Regions from separate parts of the Homo sapiens genome. Here regions 1, 2 and 3 are each linked to region 4. Evidence: promoter capture Hi-C in 16 types of primary human blood cells and fetal thymus (Javierre and others, 2016). All regions are on one chromosome and are shown on one strand. The core of a region is centred on a gene start or on the middle of the fragment in contact, and the rest is flanking DNA. Distances in the headings are between cores, read along the strand shown.

Evidence for each region. The method cuts DNA at HindIII sites, captures the fragments that hold promoters and counts their contacts. A CHiCAGO score of 5 or more calls a contact.
Region 1: a contact is called between a fragment that was not itself captured here and the fragment with the promoter of FBXO8 in region 4, in 7 of 17 cell types (naive CD4 T cells, fetal thymus, naive CD8 T cells and 4 more). The highest score is 8.0, in naive CD4 T cells.
Region 2: a contact is called between a fragment that was not itself captured here and the fragment with the promoter of FBXO8 in region 4, in 5 of 17 cell types (non-activated CD4 T cells, fetal thymus, total CD4 T cells and 2 more). The highest score is 12.5, in non-activated CD4 T cells.
Region 3: a contact is called between a fragment that was not itself captured here and the fragment with the promoter of FBXO8 in region 4, in 8 of 17 cell types (naive CD8 T cells, activated CD4 T cells, total B cells and 5 more). The highest score is 15.4, in naive CD8 T cells.

What each region holds. Positions count from the first base shown.
Region 1 is chr4:173,240,207-173,246,087 of GRCh38, reverse strand. The region is part of intron 1 of GALNT7 (polypeptide N-acetylgalactosaminyltransferase 7); the gene reads right to left. Among named protein-coding and RNA genes, the nearest start is that of MIR548T, 25 kb to the left of the region's middle. The HindIII fragment of the contact is 3,403 bases long and covers 1-2,992 here.
Region 2 is chr4:173,267,924-173,274,093 of GRCh38, reverse strand. The region is part of intron 2 of GALNT7 (polypeptide N-acetylgalactosaminyltransferase 7); the gene reads right to left. LOC124900812 (a long non-coding RNA gene) reads left to right here. Exons shown (of 3, transcript XR_007058367.1): 2 at 1-6,170. It overlaps MIR548T (microRNA 548t), which reads right to left and starts at 5,934; the gene lies at 5,861-5,934. The HindIII fragment of the contact is 2,850 bases long and covers 2,902-5,751 here.
Region 3 is chr4:173,171,051-173,174,145 of GRCh38, reverse strand. The region is part of intron 1 of GALNT7 (polypeptide N-acetylgalactosaminyltransferase 7); the gene reads right to left. Among named protein-coding and RNA genes, the nearest start is that of GALNT7-DT, 2.9 kb to the right of the region's middle. The HindIII fragment of the contact is 1,151 bases long and covers 906-2,056 here.
Region 4 is chr4:174,280,846-174,286,819 of GRCh38, reverse strand. FBXO8 (F-box protein 8) reads left to right here and starts at 3,153. Exons shown (of 6, transcript NM_012180.3): 1 at 3,153-3,410. CEP44 (centrosomal protein 44) reads right to left here and starts at 2,909. Exons shown (of 12, transcript NM_001040157.3): 1 at 2,877-2,909. RefSeq lists a silencer at 2,677-2,944 and an enhancer at 2,709-2,958. The HindIII fragment of the contact is 4,999 bases long and covers 578-5,576 here.

The DNA of each region.
Region 1 (5,881 bases), core at 42-2,541, 1.0 Mb after region 4:
GACAGACATCTTTTGGGAGCATTTCAAAGTTTTTCACAAGTTCCCCCCTAAATAGAAAAGGCAACACAGCCTGATTGTATAAATGTGATGCCTTTCTTCAGGCATGTGTGGTACAGGGTTGAGAAAGCCTCTAGATCAGCCTTCTGATTGTCCCACCTCAGAGACTTAGCTTGAGCCTAACCTGTGAGCCATACTAAGGGTCAGAGTAAGTGAGTAGAAGGCTGTTTTTTTGGAAATCATATTCAGGAAGAACTGAAGATTCTCTTGGGAATTAACTAAGTAAAGTGTAAGGCACGCATGACTGTAAGAGAGAGGTAAGGGGTGATTCTGATGATGGAAAAAGTGTTCGTTTCTCCAATTTATCTCCTGGCTCCTTCCAAAATTATACTTACTTATGTTAGTGTTGTAAGTAAATTAATATAGAGATATCATTATAAAATGTTGTAACAAACTGGTTCCCAGTTGTTGATGCTGAAACAAGTATAACACAAAAAGGAGAAAGACATTCTCCTCCACTTCAGTTTTTCCTTTCACAGGCTCAAGTGAATTGGTAAACAGGGAGGTAAGGAAATGTTATTAAATATAGAAGAGTAGTTGGAACAGCTCATATGATGTCAGCATCCATAGCCATAGCATCCACTAAGTTACCTAATGTTCCATAGAGAAGAAATTGAATATTAGAAGAATATAGAATATGATAGTACATGAAATCAAATTGTGAAATACACGCCATAGTTTAGGTTGACCTATGCTAATACCAAAATTGCAAATTTAAATATTTTTCAAATTCAACTATTTCAATGACAGAAATTTTAATGGATTAAAAATTCATGTTTATTTTCCTCCAAAAGTTGTTTTTTTTTTTTTTTTTTGACTTAATGGTTCTTTGTCTAATCTTAAACTGTTAGTGTTCTTCAGGGTTCTGTTATTAGTCTATTTGTCATTCCATCCTCATTCTAGGTTATTTCATTCTCTTCCAAGCTCAGTGACCAGTTTTATAGTGATCACTGCTACATCCATTTCCCCAGCCCGTATCACCTTTCTGAACTCAAAACCTTACAGGCAACTTCTTCCTGAACATTTCTATTCATATCTCTCTAGTACCTAAATTTAACATACCAAAAACTGAACCTATCATTCACCTCACATCACAAGCCTGTTTCACTGACTGTCTCCTTACTTCAGGGACTGAAACCACCATTCACTCAACTGATGAAATCCAAAACCTGCAATCACCCTCAACTTTTTATTCTCTTTTATCTACCCTTCTGACATCCAATTAATCATAAATTCCTGTCAATTCTATCACCTGTGTAGAGCCTCCATCTGGCCACTTCTTTCTATCATCCTCACTGCTACTGCCTTAATTCAGGCACCCTCACCTCTGAACAAGATTACAATAGGAATAATAGTGATGATGGTAAACACTGTGTCCTAAGTGCTTCACATACATTAACTTATTCAATCCCATGAGTTAGGTACTATGATTGCCATGTCTATTTTATAGATGGGACATCTGACAGGGAAGTTACCTAAGATTAGAATCAGTATGTAGTAGAGTCAAAATTTCAATCCAAATAGTCTGGCTCAGGATCTACACTCTTAACTACTATGACCTAGTGCTTCTCGCCCTGACACATACTTCCTACACAGCAGCCACAGGGACTTTTCTAAAATTCATACATCAACATGTTTCTTTCCCTGCTTACCATATTCCAGCAGTAGCCCACTGCCCTCTGGAGAATACACACTCCTCAAGGGGGTTGGCAAGGCTTTTCCAGTTCTAGACTGCATTTATGAAATGTCTTCAGCACTATCCATGAGAGAGGGGTCAGCAAACTTTTTCTTCAAAGGGTTAAGTAGTAAACATGTTTGGCTTTGCAGACCACAGGGTCCCTGTGGTAATTATTCAAGTCTGCCTCTGCAGTGTGGGAGCAGCCATAGACAATATGTAAATGAATGGGTATGGCTGTGTTCCAGTAACCATGTATTTACAGAGACAGGTGTTGGGCTGGATTTGGTTCCCTAGTCCCTGCACTAGACTGTAAGTTCTGTGAAAGTGCAGAGGCTATGTCCATCGTACGCACCACTGCATGCCCAGTGCTTATCCTGGCACATAATTCCTCAATAAATACTCACTGAATAAATGAATGAATCCTAAAATTTCTGCTTTGGTGGTAAGATAGACTCCGAAAAGAAAAGGGGAGATAAAGAATGGAAAATACAAAATGGGAGAGCAGGGCTTAAATCAGATAGACCCGTACTGGCAATACCTTATGAATTCACCAAGAACATAACTCTATATTCCCTACACGGCACTGTACTTTTAATAATGCCATATAATAGCACCAGAAAAATTGAATTTGCTCACTTCTCAGAGGCTGCATGTCATTAAATCGGAAGGCAAAACCAAATACAAGAATTGTCTGTCTAACCCCAAGTCAACTAAGAATAATCACATCAAATCTTAATTATATGATTCAAACAACGGCTATAAAGTGGTGTAATACTTTACTCCCCTGAGGAGGAAAGCTACATACTCCTCCTTTCTGAGAGTGAATGAGAATCAGTAGATGCCTCTGTGACTCACTGGTACAATGATACCTTCGTAAACACCAGCTGATCCACTCTACAGCCCAAACTAATGAATCACTGTTAAACAGAAATGGAAAAGAGGATGAGTAGATAATTTTCCAAGATCAGTATGTTCATAAAGGTGGAAATGGACTGAAAAATATAACCACTTATCACTGGATGGTAATATGGATTACCAGAAGTAAGGTCAGGCTAGTAACCATCCACCTTACAACTTACAAAGTGCCCCTTCTTACCCCCAAATCCTGCTTATATGTAATATTTTTCCAAGATGGCCATGCCTTGGTAGAGATAATATAAATCCAAAGGGATTTAGAAAAATGGTCTTTAGAGCAAATGACAGTAACATAGGCTTGTTTGAATTTGAAATCACAGGTGAAGCCTAGAAAACTAAGCTTTTAATGATGAGCTTATGCAGTCACATGATCTCTTGAGAAATGATGACTTAGCTTTAGGAAAGGGCCACTGCTTGAACAACATGCACACTACTTGGTTATCATGCTTCATGAGCCACAGAATTTAAAGGTATAACAAGCCAAACTTCATTCTGTGATTTTAACTCTCTTGATCAAAAACACCTTTCTTCAGAAAAATCCTATCAGCATCCTTTCTCTGGCTGCAGTTACCTAAAAGGAGCAGAAGGAATGGACACAGAAAGCAGAGAGGGAGGTGGTAAAAATAAATAAGCTCCAGAAATTCAGAGGGAACAAGGCGTGCCAGTAGGCTGGGGCTCCCCAGACTCTCACCAACATGTGGCAGGATGTGGGTGGGAATGTGGAGTGCACCAGCCTCAGTACCCTTCTTTCTCTCTGCTTAGTTACAGCTGGATGGACTAGACATTTCCGGCTGACTGAAGAGCTCCATGTCTTGCTCCTTTCAGAGCACTGAGCGATGACTGCATTGGGAGCTGCAGCCCTGCTGGGCATGGTCAAGGAATTTGTGCTTAATCAGGGCTTAAAATGGATAAGCCCAAGATTAAACAGAGACCTTACCAGTCCTTAAATATCTAGAATGTCATCCATACAGGAAAGGACCCATTTCCAAGTATATTTTAATATCCCTAAACTAGAAAGAGATTGAAGGCCACTTTCCAATGGCAATGCCTCTGTTAGCAACTAGGGCAGAACTGAAAATGGATGAAGCATGCTTTCAGGTAACTATGGAAATATAAAAATTCTATATAAGCTCTAGGTGTGGCTTAAAGTATGATATTCTGGTAAGAATTATCTGCTCAAAGAAATAGACCCGCTTAGAGGAATTGCTATTCTTCTTTATCTTTTTTTTCCCTTTCTTTAAGTATCAGGCCAAGATATAAACCAAAGGGTAACAAAATAGAGAAAATAGTAGAGTTGACATCATAATGCTCCACTAAAAGAAATCAAGGTCAGCAACTCTAATACTGTATATTAAACTTAAGCAGGGTAACCAGGCTGAGTACTACACAGTAAACCAGTTCGTCCCAAAGTTACTTTACAGATTGAAACACTGGGACTCTTGACAATGGAGTGATGCCTATTATGGAATAGCTAATAGTTATATCTTTTATTTTTATCTCAAGACTTCTAATATACTATGGTAACTGCAGTTACAAGTGGGCAAGTCTGTGAAGCAGTTTTAGCCACCTACTGGGAAGATTTTATCGGGTTTCTAAGGGGGCATTTTGAGCCAATTAAATGCCACCCCCCTTTAACCAAACAAGCAAAATATATAATACAGTATATAATACAGATCTATCCTGTACTATAATGAAGAATACTGAAATAAATAAGTATCTTCCTAGGCTGCAGGGATCCATGATTGTGCCACTGCACTCCAGCCTGGGGACCAGAGCATGACCCTGTTTCAAAAACAAAGGTATCTTCTTAAAAAGTTGTCTATATCACATTTTTGATCACCTAGTCATCTGAATAAAAGGAAGATTTCCATTATATAAGAGCCTCTCAATAAATCTCACAATTTTGCAACTTGTTAACCAATCTTAGGATTTTTATGCATTACCATTTGGAATTCTTAAAAGAAGTCCCCATCTGTATCAACACAATAATTTTCTAAAGATCTCTGCATTCTGTACAGTAATTATGATCAACTACAGAATATCTAGATGAGGTAAGTTTTAAGTCTTGGGCTCTTTTCCCCCAGTTTTAATGCAATTTCTCCCACATCATTAGTATAATTTCGTGATTTGCCTGACTTAACAGGAAAATTAAATGTACCAAAAATACTACATGCTCATTAGAAAAATATCAACTATTTCTTTTCTTTCTTTCTTTTTTTTTTTTTTTTAAATAGAGATGGGGTCTCACTTTGTTGCCCAGGCTGGTCTTGAACTACTGGGATCAAGCAATCTTGCTACCTCGGCCTCCCAAAATGCTAGGATTACAGGGGATGAACTACTGTGCCTGGCTAATCAACTATTTTTTGTCAATCAACTCTTTGAGTTATTGAAGATAACCTCATATGAAGATTATCCAAAACCATCTACATGTTCTGATGCCTGCTCCAAGCATCCAGTGCAATCCCCTCCCTTCTGGAGACTGAATTCCCTTTTTAAACAGAAGCAAAGCATGCACAGCCATCCCCCTGTTTCTAACCCCCCACAGAGCTTCTTCCTCCAGGTGAAAGATGGGGAGCTGGATCTCAATGTGAAAAACTTTGAACCATTCTAAGAATTTAAAATCATTGAAGAAGCCAAACAAGGGTTAAACAGGTTTGTTCCCACCAGATTTATTTCAATTTAGTATATAAAAAACACTGACATATTAGTCCCATATGTTCTGTCTTTGGACAATAATTATGCACTGATGGTATCCCCAGTCTTAGTTTCGGCTGGGCACGGTGGCTCATGCCTATAATCTCAGCACTTTGGGAGGCCAAGGTGGGCAGATCACCTGAGGTCTGGAGTTCGAGACCAGCCTAACCAACATGGAGAAACCCCACCTCTACTAAAAATACAAAAATTAGCCAGGCGTGGTGACACATGCCTGTAATCCCAGCTACTCGGGAGGCCTAGGCAGGAGAACCTCTTGAACTCGGGAGGCAGAGGTTGCAGTGAGCTGAGATTGTGCCATTGCACTCCAGCCTGGGCACAAAAGCGAAGCTCTGTCTCAAAAAAAAAAAAAAAAAAAAAAAAAAAAATTAGCCAGTGTCCACTTTCCATTGCCATCTCTATTTCAAGTAGATACATTAGTAAGTATTTGACATTTAATCTCAGATCATTGGACATTGTGAGTGAATATACTTTCTGGTGGGGAGGCACCTCTTCACTCAGGCTTTAGGAAAATTGCTC
Region 2 (6,170 bases), core at 3,077-5,576, 1.0 Mb after region 4:
AAAAGAACATTTCACAGTGTAAGCCATATGTTTATAGCTATATTGGACTCTCATTTCAAATATGAGCTTACATGCCATATTCTGTGTTACAGAAGTACCAGCTTATCAAACACCAATATATTTGAGCTGAAACAACAGGAGTAAGGATCAACATTGGGCACCATGCATGGATGTATAGATAACTTAACAGTCTGAGCAAATAAAGGTCTGCATTTTTGACTTAGTTATTAACTTATGCTACACCTTATTCCACAAGGACTTTGAGCAGCTTACAAAGACACACAGAATAAAACAGTATTACAAAAGTTAAAAATAGAAGGAGGGAAAAAGATGGATAAAGAAAGAATGAGAGGAAAAAGAAGGAGGAATCAAGAATGAGGTTTTAGAAGTATATACCAGAGGGTCAAGGGCTCCTGTGTGCACAGTTCTGGGGTACGACTGACAATGAGCACACTATGAACGCACCACCCCAAGTGAGTAGCATGGTGGGTTGGGTATACCAAATACTTCTTATGGGTAAATCACAATATTGGCTTGAATTTTCTAGCAAGAAAACCTGGTGAGGTCTGTGTTTAACAAACCAGTTGTTCAGAAGAAGTACAATATTCATGGCGTGAAGATCGGATGGGATTTTTTGTTGTTGTTTTTAAACAACAACAACAGGGGCCTCCTTATGGTAAACACAGTAAAGAGTTTCACTGTGCTGTTTTCCATAAAGACTTCAATGGAGACCAATGGCATTGTACCAAGGTGCAAGTCAGTAAAAAACAGTTGTGCAGAGAACAAGTTGGGAATTTAAGTTCAACACAGATTTGAAAATCACACTTTACAAACATTCCTTAAAATGTTTATTGAGTCATCTCTCCCAATCCATGTTTCATCACTCAGTGAGTGATTATATGCCTTCTCGATGTACTCTAATTACAATGAGGAAATGACATCAACCATATGGAGGACTTACATTTCCAAAAGCAAATTTCAACACTGTTAATGACTGAAGAGGTACAGTCTTACAGTAGCAGCATGATAACTTTAGGCTGGAGTTAGTAAATAATTTCTCAAAAGAGAATTGTTAGATATTACAGGATTGGTTGCAAGACAGGTTGTAATATTTACTTACAGAAGTCTTAAACATTGATAGTAATGGCCCTATAGCAAAATGAAGAGATGTACTAGATCGTTTTTTGAAGACCCTCTCCACTGTAAAACAAATATGGAAAAGAGTATGTAATATACAACAGTTAACATTTATTAACTCACAGAACAGACATTTTCTGGGGTTAGTAAGAATATATGTTGGCTACACTTAGTAATTTATCTTGTTAAAGATATTAGGAAACAAGTAGTTCATTAGCATATAATTGATACATATGAGATGTTTAAAAACGTTGTAAAGGAGAAAATTTGGTAATACTATTTCAAAAAATTATTGCGGTAGTCTACCTCATTTCCGGAATCAATTGAGTTATCTTTACTTATCTTTTTACATCTCTGCTTCATTGTAATTTTCCAGAAAATCAAATCTTTCTGAGGCGAGTGAGTCACGAAGAGTGAGTTGAAGTTAGTTATCAAATAGTTTATGGCTCAAAGATGGGATGGAATTATAACAACTGAGATGGTATGTTAATTCTCACTCTGAAAGAGGCAGATGCCAGAAAATCTCAAACCAAAATTTTAGAAAACATTTTAGTTCACTTAAAATCTGGCAGGGAACCCAATGACTTAACTCATGTGAACACTGCATGTAAGCTATGGTCAACTGTCATCTTGAAATAGTATCAGTTTGTTGCATTCTCTCTTGAGAGTCCCTCAATTTCTAATGGTCTACAGATAGTCCATATACAGGGGGAGACCATTACCAAAGGAGACAAAAAAAGAGAAAAATGGAAAAGGGCAAAACAAATATATTCTGTATGAAGTGGAAGCAGTGAGGGACAGGGATGGAGAGCAGAGGAGAGACTCCAGAGTTGACAAAACACTACCAAGTAAAAGGAACCAGTTATTAATCCTTTGATTTAGTGATTCCACTAGGAATTTGTCCTCTTGAAATAATCAATGATGGGCACAAAGACTGAGCCATAAGCGGGTTCCTCACAGCATTGTTTACAATAGTGAAAACCTGAAAATAATCCAAATGTCCCAAAATAAAGGATGGATGAAATAAATTGTGGTCATCCATGCAGCAGATCATATAGCTAGCAAAATGGTGTTGCACAAAAAATATTTAAAGATACATAAAAATGTGTAAAAACAATTTTAATAAAATTTTAGAAATAATATATAACATCTAACCTCATCTTTTAAAATGACCTCATATTTTTAAAATATACTACTTGGGGCCAGGCACAGTGGCTCACATCTATAATCCTAGCATTTTGGGAGGTTGAGGTGGGTGGATCACCTGAGGTTAGGAGTTCGAGACTAGCCTGGCCAATGTGGTGAAACCCCATCTATACGAAAAATACAAAAATTAGCCACGCCTGATGGTGCACACCTGAAATCCCACCTACTCGGGAGTCTGAGGCAGGAGAATCACTTGAACCCAGGAGGCAGAGGAAGTTTCAGTGAGCTGAGATCCCACCACTGCACTCCAGCCTGGGCAACAGAGCAAGACTCTGTCTCAATAAATAAATAAATAAATAAACAAACAAACAAACAGTTTAACATAAATATATGTATTACTTGGCTGGTAGGATTACAGGTGATTGTTTTTACTTTCTTCCTTTAAATATTCTACTAAACATAAATACTTCTTTCCTTTTTTCAAAATATTTAAAGTTGCTACTTAAGACAACTACAAGTGAATGGAACATTACTCTGGCAGCTTCATAATCAGCAAACCCCTGGGCAAAAAATCTAGCCTGATACCTTTATTCTCATAAAAAATAATACATTAAAGCTTTCCCCAGAACAACAATGTCAACTTACTAACAGAATTAGACCAAATTTTCGTATTCACTTTGCAGATGGCTTTGCTGAAAATGCATCTATTCTAAAAAGCAAGGGCATATTTTAAAAATCATTACTATTTATACCCATTCTCATTTTGATTCAATAGGTTAATTGAAAGATTTGCAAATTATACTGAGGGGAACTTTGTGCTTCGTTGCTGCCAGTTTTTTCCCTTCTGATATCAGCTGGTTATTCCATCTAATATATAGTCCTTCTAGATAGCTGTCATACTGATAGAGCAGGAGCCTGCACAGAATGCAGCTGCCAAGAAGACTGCTGTTTCTCAGAGGGCTGCAGCAGCTAAAAGCAAAGATAAATGTGCTTAAGCGGGAAAGGAAAACACAAACAAAGATACAAGAGCTCTGCTGGAAGAAATCTTTTACAAGGGCCAGTTGCCAACTTTTGGTGGTTTATAAATCCAAAGAGGAAAGCCAGAGCTTCTGAATTCCAGTATAATGTTCCAAATATTACTGAGTAAATATGTTTAATTATCACCACTTTAAAGCATTTCATGTGGAGGAAAAATTATATCTTTTGATGAAAAAAATCCATCAAAAACCTTAGAAATCCTAAATACTCTGAAGCAATTGAGATAGGCGTCCAAGATTAGCTTCACAGCACTGACCTCTATGGTGATCTTGAATACGAAAGCCTTCATAAAAGAAAGGAGGCTGTTTCCACAGCTTCCTCATTACCTAAGGTATTGGAATGCAGAACATCAATTATCCCCTAAAATATTCCCCAAAACACTTGTCACAAAAACAAGCATTTTTTTTTCAATCTTCAAAACTCAAGATTTCATAGGAGCAATTTGACTGAATCCCTCAGGTACCTAATGTCTCATTTTCTGAAGCTGATGTCAATCTGCTATATCTTTATTCTGGAGAGCACATGCAATTACAAGGGTTATTGCCACAGTTTAAAGGGAAAAACATTTCCCCTGTACCTCCAAATTATCCCACTTTAATTTCAAAGATTTCCCCATGAAATCATCCATATCTTCACATATTGCCAATAATAATTGCGCTATACTTCTGCAGAATGGTTAAAACCAGTGGCTATGGGTCCAAGTACACTTGATTATCTTTTTATATTTTTCAGGTTCTAGAAATATGCATACATTTATATCATCTAGTTCTTTCTTCACAGGACTTTTGTAAACGACTTCTCCCACAATCAGCTGATGAGGTGGGGTGTCTCTAGTTTTACTGGATATGAAACATCCTAGCATCATGACTGCAACTTTTGATCCTCAAGAAGCATTCCTTTTCCTGCATGATTATAAAATTGGACTTTATGGCCGTGGTCTATCGGAGTTTGTTGTATATTTCTTTGAGACCAAGATTGAAGTAAGAAACAGGTGCAATGACTACTTGGAAAGAATTTAAATTACTTCTGTTGAGGAGGAGGAGGAGGAGGGAAGATTAAATCTAAAATTATTAAGTATTCCTGAAAAAAGTCAAAGCTAGTTACCAGGATATTAAATAGATTCAATACAGCATCCAACCATTTAGGAAAGGTGATGCACTTGGGGCCTGAGGATATGATACTATCACATTTACGTGGTCATAAGGACCTTTGAAATTCAGATTAGGTCTGCTTATCAGCAGAGACTATTTCAGCACTAAATCTAATAAATATTCCAATCAGTGCAAAAGACCTCCTGTGTTCCATAGCTCATGTCACTAACTGCAGCAGCTTCTGTTGGGTACACCTTGGCATGATTCCAGCTGCCTTCCCAAGCCCATTTTAGCAGTTAGGTATCTATAAAAGGAGGTGGAAGATAAAGTGGGGAGGGGTGGGAAGGAGCAAGGAAAGATGAATTATGGGCGGAACATATAATAATAACTCGGCCACTTTATTTCTATTCCTTAAATGGAAAAACAAAATTTGATGCTTTTTGGTCTTCACATTTCTAAAAGCCATTATCAGATTTCATTTTTGAAATAAATTAACAGACAAAAAATATTTTGTTTTGTTCTGTGCCTCTGTTGTCTGAGTGCCCCTATAATAAGACATGCTTATCTGACAAACATCAGAGGAGCCATGCCCCTCTGAGAAACATCTTCACTGTTACTGAGATTTGGGTTTATTATAATGGGGTACTGGGCATTTTGCCCACTAACTATATAGTAAATATTTCTGTGATTAACCTGAGCCCCATACTAAATATACAAAAATTCAGTGGCTCCTTATTATTTGTGGATTCTACGTCCACAAATGTGGATTGCAATTGGAGATGCCTGATGGGCATGCACACGAGGATGTTCTGTTTCTTGTTTCTGCTCATAGAGTAAACAAGTGTCCGGGTGCGGTGGCTCACGCCTGTAATCCCAGCACTTTGGGAGGCCAAGAAGGGCGGATCAAGAGGTCAGGAGATTGAGACCATCCTGGCTAACACGGTGAAACCCCATCTCTACTAAAAATACAAAAAAAAAAAAAAATTAGCTGGGCGTGGTGGTGGACGCCTGTAGTCCCAGCTACTCGGGAGGCTGAGGCAGGAGAATGGCGTGAACCTGGGAGGCAGAGCTTGCTGTGAGCCAAGATGGCGCCACGCCTGGGCTACAGAGCGAGACTCCATCTCAAAAAAAAAAAAAAAAAAAAAAAAAAACGAGAGAGAAAACAAGTGTCCTATTTGCAGTTTGTTTGGTGCCACAGATTTTCTCATTTTTGTGCTTTTAGTTGGTAATTTTGCTGTTTAAAACAGCCTCCCGAGAATAATGTCAGTGTGCTACCTGGTATCCTAAGCACAAAGATGCTGTGCTGTGTCCTGTGCAGAAAATCCACGTGAGACAAGCTTTGTTTGGGTGCGAGTTACAGTGCTATTGGCCCTGAGTTCAATGTAAACCCATCAACGTTATAGGTAAAATAAAGTGTCTTTAAATAGATACATGCCTAAAACAAGGTTAGGTTGGTGCAAAAGTAATTGTGGTTTTTGTCATTAAAAAATTGCAAAAACCACGATCACTTTTGCACCACCCTAACATTTTTCTTCACTTCTCTTGACGCAAATTATAGATTCAATCACCCAGCACTTACAAGCAAGCATTTCTTTATCTTAGGTTGACCTTAAGAACTTCTTTGTATTTACTAACTTCCTTTAGGACTCCTCCTCTTTTGTAGTAAGACGGCAGGATGAAATACAATGAAGAGGGTACCATATTTTAAAGATAAGGCTGAATACCACACACCTGGCATGATGAGAGGCCTATACAGAA
Region 3 (3,095 bases), core at 232-2,731, 1.1 Mb after region 4:
GGACACTGAAAACAGCAAAGGAAACAAAAACCAATCCTAAGGTGTATAGCCTGGGAAACTGAGAGAACAGTGACCACTTAAGACACTACACTTTCACTAAGTGATAGCTCCATCCCTAATAGTATAAACAGAGCTTCCATTTGAAGTACAATCTCATGTTCAAGGGCAGAATTTTTCAGGTTACAACTGATCATCACTGAGATAAAATGGCTTTGGTAAGGTGGAACTTGACTGCCAGGGTAATCAGTTCAGCCACTAATCCTCATTTAAGCTATATTCCTTTCAAACCTGTTAGCTTGCCTATCACATAAAACCTCTTGGCCTACTAGTTCCTGAATTAGTCCTATTATATACACCCTGAACCTAAGTGGCATTAATGACTTGACTAAAGTTGCATTTGCATATCCAGAGAGTCATTAGTTTACACACAGCTTCTCACCAGTACTGAATGTTTTAATGCAGGGGTCCCCAACCCTGGGTCATGGAGCATAAACCCTATTGTGAACTGCATGCAAGGGATCCGGGTTGCACACTCCTTATGAGAATCTAATACCTAATGATCTGAGGCGGAACAGTTTCATCCCCAAACCATCCCCCACCCAACCCAACTCCCCCAGTCTGTGGAATAATTGTCTTTGACAAAACCAGTCCCTGGTGCTAAAAAGGTGGGGGACTGCTGTTTTAATGGATCTGTCAACATTTCCTTTAAAAACCTTTATTTTCAGAGGCTTATGGGTCAACTGTAGACAGTCACTCAGGGCTAAAACCTGGGATAAATGGTGTTAGTCTGGGACATAATTTATTTAATTAAAGGAACTTTCTGTGCTTTGCAAGTCCAAGCAGATAATCTTAATAAATGCTGACCTTAAAATATCCAGAGGGCAAAGACTAAAAAAAAAAAAGCTTCCCATAATCATAAAATACAATACAAGAAGGTATACATTTTGCTTTGAGAACTTTCCATAATGAAACAAATAATCTATCATCCTAGGCCTCCTGACACCTTCACTACCATATCCAATAGCCAAATCCTGATGCCTTTGCATCTTTAGGAGCTCTTGAATCAATTTATTTTTTTCTATCTCTACCACCGCCCTGCCAATCTAAGCAAGGATTATGTCCCACCTGAATAATGATGACCCCCACCAGGACTCCTGCTACCTGTTCTATAGACAAATACATACTTTCTGTAGGCAGCCAGAGTGATCTTTTCAAAACACAAATCCACTCTTCCCTACTTAAAATCTTTCAACGGCTTCTCACCGCACTTAAGATCTCCTCCTTAGCATGGACTACGAGACCCATGCTTTCCTGTGTGGCATCATTCTACTTGTCATTCTCCACGTTCCAACAATATTTATCTCCTAGTTTCTCACTATTTCACTCATGCTACCTCCTGCCTCAGGACCTTTGCCCAAATGCTCCTTCTCAAGAATGCTGCCACCCACTTCCAGATTAACTACTTTTCTTGAAATGTTCAGATTTCGCCTCAAAAGTCAGAGTAGGCAGCTAGGCAGACATGAGCAGGGCAGGAAAGGCCCCCCACCACCAGGAATGTCAGGCGGCCATCAGGTGATGGTCAGGCCGTTGTTAAACTGTCTCTCTGAAATAATAATTGGTCGCGCCAACACCATGGAAAGGCAGTCTCCCATTAGATAGAAAACACCTAAAGCTGGTTATCAGCAGGTTCCCACTAAGATCTCAGGAGTTGGGCAAGTGGGCTCCAGCATGTGCACTAATAGGCAAAATGGCAGCTTTTAACTAGTATATGCCCTTCCTCTAGGAAGGCTCAAATTGTAAGGGAAAAATGCCTCAAGTGAGCATGAGTAAAACTTCAGTAAACACACTGCAGGCAGCCCCTCCCCGCTGCTGGCAGGCCACTGCGCATGCAGACAGCCCACCCCAAGGGAAGAATCACGGGAGAAGAAACGCAAACCCTGGAATCATGCCAATGTATAAAACCCCAAGTCCAGGGTCAGACGAGGTACTTGGATTTCTCAAGTAGCCCACATGGCCTTCTTCAAAGTGTACTTCCTTCCGTTCCTGCTCTAAAGCTTTTTAATACTCTCACTCCTGCTCAAAAATTTGCCTCGGTCTCTCACTCTGCCTTATGCCCCTCCAATAAATTCTTTCCCACAGGAGGTAAGAATCGAGTTGCTTCAGACCTGTGTGGATTTGCTACTGCTAATAGTCATTTCTTCAAGTAAGGCTTTTATGACCAAATTCCTCCATTTTCTTGCCCCCTATGGTTTTCACTATGAAAGCAGTAGCACAATTTTTATTTATATATTTATCGAGGTTTGATTGCTGTGTGGTTTTTACAAGATCCATGAGATTAAGGACAAGGAGTATTTCCTTAACAACTAGTACCATGCCTGGTATATAATTGGCACTCAAAAATGTTCAAATAAATCAATATTTAAAATCACACAACAGAATATGATCGGAAATGTAAGGTCATTTTTCACATCATTCACTTCAGAGAAAGGGCAAGAGGCCCAGAGATGGGAAGGAAATAAGAAACATGTTTCTTTTGTCTTGACTCCACAGGTGGACAGACCTAAAACAAGGAAATAGTGCAGATGAGAAAGGACCATCCCAAGTTGTCAAGGCTGTAACAGAATTTAGTGTATGACATATTCATAGTTCAAGACAAAAAGTGGCACAGGGTGAATGGAGCCACAGGTACAAGCTTGCTGGAGTAGAGGCAGAACCCATACCTGGTAAACTGGATCGTTCAGGCTATTTAAAGGGATCCAAAAAAGTCCATGTGTAGATCAGCATTAAAGAGAAGCAGAGATCTCACCATGGGTGGAATATATGCAATAGTCATCGAAGTAAAAGAACCACAAGGGGGAGGAGAAACTCAGGAGTCAGAATCCTCCCTACAGGATTTGTCCTTCTAGCACTGTACCTTAAAAGCTCCTAGGTTAGTCTTTATTAAAGGAAGGCAATAATCCCTTATTTATGCTCTTATTATTTATAAGCTACACTTTAAATTGCTTGTATTACTATTTACCTGGGAAGCCAATAAAAGGGTCTTTCTTGCTCTTCTGATACCTAAGCATTCCTCTTAATGTTAATTATGTTAAGTC
Region 4 (5,974 bases), core at 1,904-4,403:
AAAAGATTTGAACGAACTGAGACTTTAAACAAAATGATTCATTTTTTAAAAACTGCCCCAAAAGTAATAGCATGGAATTTATTTCTAAATGACTAATTTTCTTGCATGGAGTGGGACTTTCATTAGATTATCAAAGGAGATTTTTCCCAAAGAAGAGTCATAAATAGGTATATAAACGATTAAGAACCTTTGCTGGAAGGAGGTAAGTTTCTGAACTATAAAAGTCTAGTCAGCCAGTAACGTGAAACTCAATAACTTACATAAAAACATCTACCACAACTGTCCATGGACACTTCATAGAAGAAAAGTAATACATAACAATACCTTGAGTAATGAACCCTTTGAGAATGAAGCTCCTTTAAAATGAAGTTATCACATTAAAATGAAGTCATTATATTAAAATGAAAACAGAACAATTCATAAATCAGGTGAAGCTGGGTTAGTGTGATCTTTTCCTCCAATTCGCATTACCCAGCTGTCCAGGATACAAATCATCCCTTTACACACCGTTTCTCTATCTTTAAATAAGGAAAGGTAAGAAGGTCACCGATTTACAAAATCCTAAATTTAGTAAGCTTCCTACTTTAAGCCCCTCGCCACTCATTTCCACAGCCATTTCCCCAGGGTAGAGCAACTGCTCCCTCTTTATGAACCTACCTTTCTGTTCCTAGTCTCCTTTATCAACATGGTAGGCAACAGCTTATTGAATATACTTTATAGACTTGTGCATGCACATTTTAGTCACTATTTTTCAGCCAATAAATTACTTCAACTAAACATTTACATTTCTAGACAGAGATAATTTTAGGTACTGTCAAATGGGAGATAACTAGAAAAAGAGAAAGTCATCCTGAAATCACATTATACAAAACACTGGCCAAGAAGGTAAACCCTATTTAATATCCTTTAGACTGACTGGGGGTAGATGGACACACGGAAGCCTAAAAGGGATTTCCCAAGATAAGCCTTTACTTTCCTGAAAAACATGAAGTGAGGACTACTCTGGCTTTAACCGCAAAAAATGTATTCTTGGATTTTGCCACTGGCCAATATAGTAGGTCTGAGCTTCTTTCGGGTTCCAGACCCATCTATCGTAACACAATTCTTCTAGGGATACCTTCTTCCCAGTAACTTTAATGTAAATTCTATGTCTTTCCAGACTTCCTTTAGTCCTTCCAGATGTATATTCCATTTTCCCAGTGCAAGTAATTCTGTTTTACGTAACACTTTATGATATCTTCTCACCTTTCCTTTTTCTGACATTTTGGAAAACATTTCAGTGTCTCTTACATGATTTCTACCTCTGATAATGGAATTTCTGACAACAAAGTTATGTCTCTCTTCAGTACCAGTGAATAAATATTTTGAAGAGTAATACAAGCAGAGCTCGTGAACGAGGTAAGTGATAGGAGACAGAAAAATAAAGGGATTTAAAATTGGGATTATCACAGAATAAAATTACAGCTACTGCTCTACATTCTCACAAAGGGCTTTACTAAGTCTACTATAAAATTCAAAAGCCTTAAAAACAAGACATTAAAAGAAGCCAATCTATTACTTATGTACATTTTAACACCTTACTTTCATTAATGAAAAATACTTTTAAAAATTTAACATTTTCAACTTATAGCACTGATCAAAGGCAAACTAAGGAAAAAAGGAGATACCACTCAGCTTGCAGCATAGATTCAATAATAAAGAAGCTCTCAATATTCCTTTCTAGCTTCCTTCCTTGTCTACAAGTCAGATCTGCGCAATTGAACTTGTGGGAGAGGTTGTGAAAATAGTGTACTCTAGCAGTTTAGGATTTTCAACATCGCTCAATCTCATTGCTGTTAGAGGTCATTAAAACAATGCCTCCCAATAGAATGTCACTGGACCAGAGTGATTTTTGTTTAGAATGAAGCAACTACACTGACTCTAATAACAGTCAATGGCTAAGAGTTTGTGACATAGCACATAATGCTCGATATTATCTAAAAACACGTATCAAAAACAAAAAAGTAAAGATGAGAAAAACAGTTTATGAAACTGCAAAAGATATTAGGGAAATACTTCTCTAAGAGATAGGAGAAAGGTCTGAGAAAGGCAAAGCATCGAGAAAGCTGGGCGGGAGTGGGGAGGAGTAAGGGACAAGTAAAGAGTTCAACGGGACTGCTGTGTTCACACATAAAATTAAAAGGTCTGCAGATAATTCGGGAAAAAAACAGTCTAGCATGGCCATAATTCCAGAGTAAAAGAGAATAACAACTTCAAGATTAACTTGTTACAGTGAGGGAAAAATCTGTAGCCTTCAATAAAGGTGGAGAAATATTTGAAAAGCTGGGGAAATGCCAACAAGGAAAACACGAACTGCTGTCCTGTCTTCCTTATAGTCAGGAGCCGTTTGTATCCTCACCCCAGAGGATCCAATAGGAATCAGTAAGCCTATAACTTTCCAACCCTAAGTCACAACCTAATTCTGATAGGATGAGCTACCACGATACTTCCCACTTCGTTGTGACTAAAAGCATATACTAGTTGGGTATATAAGCAAGGCTCCCCTCCCGCCATTTGATTTAAAAGAATGAAAAGGCGGATCTGGTCATTCGTCTCCGCCCGGGGTCTCTGTAAGGACGGCGGAGAGAGGCGACCTCCGCCCAATACCAGGCGCAGCCTTGCCGTCTCCTCGGGGCTCACCAAGCAGCCACCAGCAAAGAAGCCGGTTTCAAAGGCCCAGCACGACAGGGAGAGGAAAACGGAGCATATGCAACCATACACAGTCACCAGAGTCCAGCCTCCCGCAACCAGTCGCTACAGCCAGGCGCCTGCGCCCAGAAGCGCTTCTCGCGCCGACCGTTTGTATTTGGAATTGTGGGTTCCTGCCCGCCACGCACCACCGCAAGACCTTCAAAGCTGGGAGCTTCTCTGTGCTCCAGGATTCCTCGCTGCCGATTCCACACCGCGTTCAAGACTCCTGTGAAGAGCGACTCCGCTGAGAGCCTCCTCAATGGCCAGTCCACTTCTAACTTGCAGCTGAGAAGTTTTTCTGATCTTGATGGTCAGAGTGGCTCGTGCTACGAAGTGAGAAACAAGGAATCTATAGCGAATCGTAAACAACAGAAATAAAAATGCGTCTCCGTTAAGAGTCGGAGCCTAACGTCACTTCCGGCAACAATAGGAAACGTCAAAATTGGGATAGTCGGCAGTTCTGGCCCCTGCAGCTGGAGGTACCCTGAGTTCTGAGGGTCGTAGTGCTGTTTCTGGTATTCTCATCGCGGTCACCTCTACCGGTGTGGACAAGTAAAGTTTGAATCAGCTTCTCCATGGCCTGGGCACCAGTTCCCGGCTGAGCCATTTTCCTTTTGGCTAAAAGTCCCCGCCCAGAGGCCAATTCGTCGCGGCGGCGGTGGAGATCGCAGGTCGCTCAGGTACAGGAGTCAACCTAGATATTTTAGATCTCTTGTCTCTTTTCCCTGTTCACCTTCACTTTTCTCGAAAATAAAGACAACCAGTGCTTGCCAGTTGGCCGAAACTGGCCGACCAGCAAGAGTTTGCGACCAATGACAGTGCGAAGCATCTTGAGTGACAGTAGTGGTGGCTCATTAAAGTGAGGAATCACTGTCAGGAGGCGGAACTGGGTGTGTTCCTTCTGTTTCTAGGCCATTGGGGTGTAGTTCGGTTTAGGACTCCAAGTAGTAACCCAGCGTCATTGTGAAATAAACCTGAGAAATGACAAGGGTTACTTTCTTCAGGTCCAAGTGTTGGTTTTCGGGTCGAGTGTTATTTTGGTTCCTAGACAGTTTTTGGTTCTTTACCACTTTCCAGTAATATGAATGCAAACACAAGTATAGTTAAGATCACGATGGATTGCTAGCTGCTACAGTAGTCAAACTTGGGTTATAAAACTTGTCAAACTTGTCTTTTATTTGTTTCTCAGCGACTGGGTTCTAATCTCTTACGTAGAAGGTTCTCAATATTTATTTGGCAAAATCACATAAATGGATCCCAATCCTCAGTCATTTAATTTTTTTAGTTTTATTTTTAGGTTCTGTATGAATTTACTAATAAAATAATTGATTCTACTTGTTTTACAAGTAAAATATTCATTTTCAAGGCTCCTAGGTGTATATCCACAAATGAATATATCATGATTTTTATTACGGTAAAGTGAAGACAATTTATGTTTTCTATTTCAGCTTTCCTCTTCCTTCTTTTAATGTTTGAAGTAATGTATTTCTGAGGTAGGAGCTCTACACACTTCTCAACTCTACCCTTCACGAAAATGATATGTGAAACAGAGTAGGTTTCAGAATAAAGAATGCATAAGTTTTATTATTTTTTTCATATTGGGTCAGAAATTCATCTTTAGCCAATTAACCTGACAATATGTCTGATGAGGTACTTCATTAGTTGTCTATTGCTGGGTAACAAATTACCCCCAAATTTACCCCAGCTTAAAACAACAAATATTATCAGTTTCTGTACATCAGGAATTAGGGTGCAGCGTAACTTCATTTAATAATAAGTTACAGCAAATTAACTAATATTACTTGGGGCCCTTGGATCAATTACTTCCATCCACAAAATATTATAGTAACTTCTAGATAAGCCAAAACATTGATCATAATTTATTACATATGGTCACTTTAATGGGGAATGTTTTGTGTGTTTACTGTTGCTAGGTTAAAAGATATCTTCCTCATTTTACAATATAAAAACATTGAATTACCAAATCTTTAATCACAGTGTGTTGAAATTAGTCATTCAGATTTGTAACTTTATGGTTTATTATTTAACCAACTGCTAATGTACAACTAATTTTTTCCTCATTTTGATTCAGATTTGGAAACTGGCACTATTCCATTGACTGACCCATGATAATGCATCAAAATCATTAATACTAAAGTCTAAGAATTATGCATTTAATTTCTGTTTCTTTTTCTTGAATTATTTTACTTAAATAATTTTTTAAACAATTTAAATGAAATACATCTATTTCTGGAAATTTATGTTCACTATTTCTTTTTCGTTTTGCTCTCATTGTTTTGTTTTTCTGACAAATTTCTTGACTTAGCTCTCTAATAAACTAAAACATTTTTGGCTGACTTGAATAAATTTATATCATATTTGGGGCAAGTATTTTTTTGAGACAGATTTTTATTCTGTTGCCCAGGCTGGAGTGCAGTGGTGCGAACAAGACTCACTGTAGCCTTGACCTCCTAGGTTCAAGCAATTCTCCCTCCCACCTCAGCCTTCAGAGTACCTGGGACCACAGGCACACGCCATCACGTGTGGTTATTTCTTTTAATTTTTTTGTCTGACTGTGCTGCCCAGGCTGGTCTTGAAGTCCTGAGCTCAAGCGATCCTCCTTCCACAGCCTCCCAAGGTTCAGGAATCATAGGTGTGAGCCACTGTGCTGGTGCAAGTACTTTATAGCAATATAAGATAAAAATATTTGTGGTTTGGAGTTTAGGCAACAGCTTTAGGGAGTTTAACCATTTAGTCAGCAGTTCGTGTATTTTTCAAGAATAGATTGCATAGGATTCATAAGCTATTTGAATGAAGGAACCAGATTTTAGCAAGTAAGCCAAGCTTGGAGAGACTCTATATGGAGTAGTGATTTGTGGAAGTCATGAATATAGGGAAAAAAGAGATGGAAAGGACAGATGTTAAATACACACACACGCACGCCATCATCTCTTCTTTTATTTATTAATTTGTTTTTCAGAGTTTTTTCCCTCATTTTATTTTTATGGGATCACAGAATTGTTTCTTCCAATTTTTAAATTGTAGTAAAATATACGTAACATAAAATTTACCATCTTAACCATTCTAAGTGTACAGTTCAATGGTATTAATTACATTGATAATGTTGTGCCACCATCAACACCATCTATCTTCATTACTCTTTTTATCTTGTAAAACTGAAACTCTATACCTATTAAACAATAATTCCCCTTCCCCATTCCTAGGTCCTAGCAATCACCATTCT